2 separate regions of the Homo sapiens genome follow, and region 1 is linked to region 2. Evidence: promoter capture Hi-C in human tissues and cell types (Jung and others, 2019). All regions are on one chromosome and are shown on one strand. The core of a region is centred on a gene start or on the middle of the fragment in contact, and the rest is flanking DNA. Distances in the headings are between cores, read along the strand shown. Region 1 holds the start of C16orf90 (chromosome 16 open reading frame 90). Region 2 overlaps CREBBP (CREB binding lysine acetyltransferase).

Region 1 (3,223 bases), core at 285-2,784, 380 kb before region 2:
CACCCTTGTCTGGGTCCATGCTGGAACTGGAAGCTGAGGAAAGAGGAGAGAAAGGAGTCACTTGAGGGACCCAAGGGGAGGCTGGGGGGGAGGCTGGCAGCCCACCCTGGGGTTTCCAGAATCCGATATTCTTGAAAACAGAAGGGAGGAGGGCAATGCTTCCTCCTTAACAGAATCCCCAGGGGAGGGAGGAGGTTGAGGGAACAGAATGGTTCAAGCTGGAAGGACCCTCATCTAACCTGAACCCTCATTTTACAAGTGAGAAAACTGAGGCCCAGCAAGGGAGACAGATTCCAAGGCCCCTCACCGAGTGTGGAGCTGGGGCAGTCACCCAGCCCTCCCTCCCAGATCCTCCCTTTTTCTCGCACCGCTTTGTCCCTGGTGGATTCTCCAGACCCCGCTTAGCTGTGCGTGATGCAGAGATGGGGACAGATTCATCAAGATCTTGGCCTTCTGGGGCATGGTGCCACTGTGGAGGCTTGGGAGTGGAGAAGGGCCCGCCTGAGGCCCCAGCCCAACCATCCCCTAGGGTCTTCCCCCGTGCCCAGTCCTGCCTTGACAGAGCTCACCACTGCTTCCCAGGCTGTCCCTGGGCAATCGGGCTTCCAGAAGGGCTGAACAGAGGCTGTTACGTGGGCCCAGAGTCCCCTGTGGCAGGTCCAGGGCCCAGGCTGTGCCCTCAGGCTGTGGCAGGCAGCCCCCAGCCATAAGCCGGCCCAGCCAGTGGCTCTCACACTGGCCAGTGGGTGGCGGGTGGCTCTCCAGGTAGAGGCCCAGGCCCCGGAGGTGGCGCAGCCGGAAGTTCTTGGGCTTGCTTCCCTGGGCACTGGGGCACTGCGGCTGCGGGGACCCCAGGCCCCCCTCGTAGATGTTGGGGGGTGCGTCAGGGTGGCCGGGGCGTCCTTGGGCCTGGCTCACTGCATCTGCAGAGGAGACAGCGGGAGGGTGGTGGCCAGCCCCCCACAGCAGCCATGAGGGGAGGGTGCAGTCACATACCTCTGAGACCAGCTCACATGATGGGCTACACCCCCAGCCAACCTGGCCTCAGTTTACCTGTGTGTCAAATAGTCTCAGTCCACTGCCTCCCCTGCCCATGCCCAAGACACGACTCCTCTTCCCACTCCCAACCAACAGGGAGGCCTGGGAAGCCTCGGGCCTTGGTACTAAGAGTGCTTTCAGGACCTCAAGTCCTTTCTACTACCCTGTTCTGCCCGCTACCCTAGGAAGAGTATTCTGGTCCCCACAGAGAAATTGCACAGTGGGTTTGAGAGAAAGTGGCCAGCCCAGGGGCTCATGGCCTGGCCCAGTGGCCATTCCCCTCTCCCAAGCATACATGTCCCTGAGGCCACCCCTCGGCTTTGGGCCCAGGTGGGGACAGAAGCCTATCTCTCTTCCTGCCACTCCTCCCCACAGCCCGGCACCTTCTCTTATGTGCAGCTCAGAAAATGCACAGACCAAGGCTTCCATGGAGGGCCAGTGTGGTGGGGAGGAGCAACCAGGACTTGGGTGCAGCAGGGCCCTGCTCTCCCCTGCCTAGGGGGTACATTGGCAGGTCTCCCCTGGCAACTGGTTCTTATGACATCACGGGGAAGACTCCCAGCCTTCCTGGACCCCTAGTTTGGGAGAGGACAGTGCCCAAGGCAAGGGCAGGGTGAAAGAAAGGCATGGGAAGGGGCCAGAACCCTGGGGGAAGTCCCTGGTCCCTCTGGCTGGGGTCAGGCCACATAAAACAGACAGCTCTGGCAAACTGGAGAGTCCTTCTCTCAGGTGATCTCTTGGGGCCAGCTTCCTCATCTGGGGTGGGAAATGAGGGTTCAGGAGTACAGACCTAGGAAGACCTAGGTCGGTACTTTGAAAATGCTGAAAAGGGGCTGGGGGCGGTGGCTCATGCCTGTAATCCCAGCACTGTGGGAGGCCGAGGCAGGCTGATCAGTTGAGGTCTGTGGGAGGCCGGGGTGGGCGGATCATGAGGTCAGGAGATCGAGACCATCCTGGCTAACACGGTGAAACCCCGTCTCTACTAAAAATACAAAAAAATTAGCCGGGCGTCGTGGCGGGAGCCTGTAGTCCCAGTTACTCAGGAGGCTGAGGCAGGAGAATGGCGTGAACCCGGGAGGCGAAGCTTGCAGTGAGCCCAGATCGCGCCACTGCACTCCAGCCTGGGCTGCAGAGCGAGACTCCGTCTCAAAAAAAAAAAAAAGTTAAACATTCATCTTTCCGGACCTGGCCAAGCAGGAAGCGCCATCATGGGAGCTGACGTCCGCCACAAGAAGGACCTAAAGGTTCGGCGCAAAGAGCCCAAGAGCCAGGATATCTAACTGAGGCTGTTTGTTGGTCAAGCTGTACAGGTTACCGTCCAGACGAACTAACTCCACATTCAACCAGGTTGTGCTGAAGAGGTTGTTTATGAGTCGCACCAACCGGCCACCTCTGTCCGTTTCCCGGATGATCCGGAAGATGAAGCTTCCTGGCTGGGAAAACAAAACGGCCGTGGTTGTGGGGACGCTTAACGGATGACGCGAGGGTTCAGGAGGTGCCCAAACTTAAGGTGTGTGCGCTGCCCGTGACCAGCCGGCCCACAGCGGCATCCTCAGGGTGGGGGCCAAGATCCTGACTTTCGATCAGCTGGCCCTGGACTCCCTCAAGGACGGCGGCCCCGTCCTACTCTCCGGTCTTCGCAAGGGCCGACAGGTGTACCGGCATTTCGGCAAGGCCCTGGGAACCCCACACAGCCACACCAAACGCTATTTCCGCTCCAGGGACCAGAAGTTCGAGCGCGCCAGAGGCCTACGGGCCAGCCGAGGCTACAAAAACGAACCCTCTTATTAAAAAGATTTTGGATGCTGACAAAAAAACAAAAAGTTAAAACATTCAATTTTCTCTTGTCACAGACGACCTGATTTTTCTTTTTTTCTTTTCTTTTTTTTTTTTTTTAAGATGGAGTCTCACTTTGGCGCCCAGGCTGGAGTGCAGTGGCGCGATCTCGGTTCACTGCAACCTCCGCCTCCCGAGTTCAAGAGCTTCTCCTGCCTCGGCCTCCCCAGCAGGTGGGATTACAGGCACCCACCACCACGCCCAACGGATCTTTGTATTTTTAGTAGAGACAGGCTTTCGCCATGTTGGCCAGGCTGGTCTCAAACTCCTGACGTCAGGTGATCCGCCCACCTCGGCCTCCCAAAGTGCTGGGATTACAGGCATGACCCACCGCGCCCAGCAACCTGAT
Region 2 (3,417 bases), core at 801-3,300:
AGACGGGACAACCAGAAGAGGACTCAGATGTGAGCAAGCCATGGGCCTACAACGATACCCCAGGAAACAAACTGTCATGGTCAGGGTGCTTTTCCCAACAACCAGGAATGCATGGAAAACAGGCAGGCTTCCCCAACTCCTGGCTCTGTGCTGGCTCAGCAGAAGAGCTGTCACAGGAGCCCAAGGCTCCTCAACCATCCCAGGGCCTGCCTCCCACTGGGGCATGCGGCCCTGGACTTCTGCACACGGGGACACTCAGGAAACAGGGGAGGGAGTAAATGAAGCCTTATTCAGATCACCCTTTCTGGTTCCAGAGTTTTTGCACTTGACTGCATTTCTGTACCCTTTCCTTAAGTTTTGCCTCGAGGTTTCATCTTCTCAAGATGGTTCTAAGTACTCACAGGCATCTATCAGAATCCTGTGTACACTGCTAATGCTTAACAGGTACCTCAAGATAAATTATACACAGTAAACAAACAGAATCACATACTTGTCTGCTGCTTAAACAGTCCATGAAATATGCTTCAAAATTATCAATAATTTTCAGTGTACATCCTGATTTGATTTAAAAGAAAAAATAATTCAGAACACACACCATTTAAGTTTTCGTAATTTTAAGCTTTCATGGCCATCACGTTCCTATTTTTAAAAATACAATAAAAAATGGAGACAGAGTCAATGGTATAGATGACAGAATTCCCGGCTATGTATCTGCTGAGGTGCTACACTATCACACGCGTGCCTGCACACTGGTTTCTGTGGATACGAGCACACATGGCTTCTGTCCTTTCCAGAACTGCTGAGAAACAGGTCTTGCTCCAATCAGACTAGCACTCCCAGTAAGTCCTAGGACTTACAAGGTACGACAACGTCCCTGGTTAACGCTAGTGTCAGTTCCCATTGGGCGGATATGCCAGACACACATCATCTCAGGCTACCCTCATAACCACCCTGAGATGGGAATTGTTATTATCTCCATGTTACAGATGAGGAAACTCTGAGCTCAGAGAGCTGATGTAACTTGCCCCAAACATGCTCTGGCCTCAGCACTCCTAAGGCCAGCTGGTTTGGTGGCCGGGTGGGAGCCCATGGGTACGGAACTCGGAAGCAAATAACAGACCCAATTAGAAGATAGGTGGCAATCTGCTTGAAAGTAAAACCTTAACAAGAAAATGATAAGAACTTTAAGGGACAAATACTATATAATTCTTTCACTAATTCCCTCAAATATTTCCTGAGGGCCTACTATGTGTCAGGCACTGCCCCTGGGGAGGGAAGTGCTGGGAAGAGGGCCGTGGAAAGGCTCTGGAGTTCTTACTGACGCTCACCTTCTGGTGTCACAGGAAGGGGAGCAAGCCTAGAGCCTGAGATGACAAAGACGGACGAGAAATGCCATGTGGGCCACTGGGGTCAACAAAAAGCAAAAGAACAAAGAAAAATGCAACCGGTCACCAGGCTTTCTGATAAATTCGTCTGATTTTAAATCAAGTCATCCATATAACTGTTACAGAGGAACAAAAAAGACAGAGAGAGAGGGCCCTGCTAAGCTCTGAAGTGCTCCAAGACAGGAGACCCAAGCTAGCCTGCTGCTCACCTGGGCTCTCCCGGGCTCCACATCATGCAGCTCAGAAAACTTGCCCTGCTGCTGTTTTCCTTAAAGCTGTCTGTGCAGCCGTGGTAGGCCAGTGCTCCCCAACGGGTGCTCAGAGAATGAAGTCCCACGTTATATCAGTCACCAAATTGCAGCCCATGGGCGAAGTCCTCAGATGCCAGTCTTTACAACTAGAGTTTTACTGGAACACAGCCAGGCCCACTCGCCTATGGCTACTTTCTTGCTGAAATGGCAGCCTTGAGTAGTTGCAACAAGAGACCATATGGCTCAGAAAGCCAAATGCGTGCTCTCTGGCCCTTTGCAGAGGAAGTCTGCGGACCCATAATAGGCTAAAAAGAGTTCTAGCGTCAAACAGGATTGAGAGTGGTCCAACTGTAGCCCCTCTCTCACAGTGCCCAATCAGGACACCAAGGCTCTGGGAAAGTCTGCAGTCAAATTCCTCAGCTACAAGCAACAGCATCTGAGCACAAACCATTTGTTGAGAAATACCTCTTAGCATGCCCTCTAGTTTCTTGGAATACATGTGAAGAGCTGGTTTGAGTAAGGTAAAGAGGGGTGCCCTCACTAATGGGACCCCAAAAACTAAACTGACAAGCTTTTGCAATCTTCAGAAACTCACAATAAGGTACATTTCATCTTAACTAAGGTAAGACACACTTTGGCAAAATCATTTTCCTAACTGTTTTCAAATACATCAAGTAAAAACACAAGTCAGCAATTATGGACCCCCCAGGTAATCACATACTTTGCCACACAATTACAACACACTACTTAGAAGCTGTGAAAACACAGGCGACTAATCTAAGCATCAACTTCCAACTGCAGGACTCAGTCTCTTTGTAAGTTATGTTCAATTCTGTTTACAGAATCAAATCTGAATGTTCAGCCAGGAGCGACTTTCCATCTTCTGAAGGCCCTCTAAGGCGCCCTGCACATGACTTGTCCTTGCCTACCTTCATCCCTGACGACCTTTGAATGGGGCCACCGCTCTCACCCCTCTCAGTTATTCAAAAACGAAGCACGGTCATGAAATGTCCTAGTCCTAAAAGTCTCTATGACAACTTTTATTCCTACTTAGCCAGAACTCACTGATGGGGTAACATAACCGTTTCTCATTCTCCCTGAGGTAAACAGGAACACGAGCCCACACACGTCACGCTGAGGATAACACCAGAACCAGAGGGAAAAGGGGGACGCCCTAACCCAGGAGGAAGAATACACTCCTGGCTGCCCCCACCACAGGTGGTTACAAACCTCCCCCTTAGTGATCTCATTCATGTGCGGGAAGGCCGCTACTGAAACTCACTAAGCTTGGCAGGTTCCTGGGTCGATTCAAGTAAATGCATTGTTTACAGATAGAGACTTAGAAAATAAATATATAGAGCTACGGACTTTAACAATCTAGTTTGGATCTGGTTTTGACCCTGTATCACCTCTCAAGTCCAGTTCCTCACCTAGAAAATAGCAGTAACAGCATCTTCCCTTCCTCACAGGACGCTGTAAGGATCAAACTGAGGTGACGTGGAGAAAAGCACTCTGATACATAAAGTACCAGACATACATAACAGACCATTTGGTTGACAACCATATTCGCCACCAGCTTTCTTTAAATAAGCTTCCCTATTGCATTTAAAAGGATTCACGTCATAAAATGTAATCACAACTGCTTAGAGCCACTTATACAGCACAGGATGAAACACAGCTATGTTCAATCTTCAGAATGTAGTTTTTCTTTTCCTTTTTCCCCCAGAGACAGGGTCTCACTCTGTCACCCAGGCCAGAGTGCAGTGGCATGATCACAGCTC

What was found. Contacts are between HindIII fragments. The study calls those that stand out against the background at their distance.
Region 1: a contact is called between the fragment with the promoter of C16orf90 here and a fragment that was not itself captured in region 2, in 1 of the 25 tissues and cell types used here (dorsolateral prefrontal cortex).

The regions. Positions count from the first base shown.
Region 1 is chr16:3,493,955-3,497,177 of GRCh38, forward strand. It overlaps C16orf90 (chromosome 16 open reading frame 90), which reads right to left and starts at 1,535. Exons shown (of 3, transcript NM_001080524.2): 1 at 1,422-1,535; 2 at 570-923; 3 at 1-33. The coding sequence starts at 1,467. It also overlaps a transcript of CLUAP1 not described here and the pseudogene RPL18P12. The HindIII fragment of the contact is 9,668 bases long and covers 1-2,292 here.
Region 2 is chr16:3,872,696-3,876,112 of GRCh38, forward strand. The region is part of intron 1 of CREBBP (CREB binding lysine acetyltransferase); the gene reads right to left. Among named protein-coding and RNA genes, the nearest start is that of CREBBP, 6.3 kb to the right of the region's middle. RefSeq lists a silencer at 1-7. The HindIII fragment of the contact is 5,503 bases long and covers 1-3,417 here.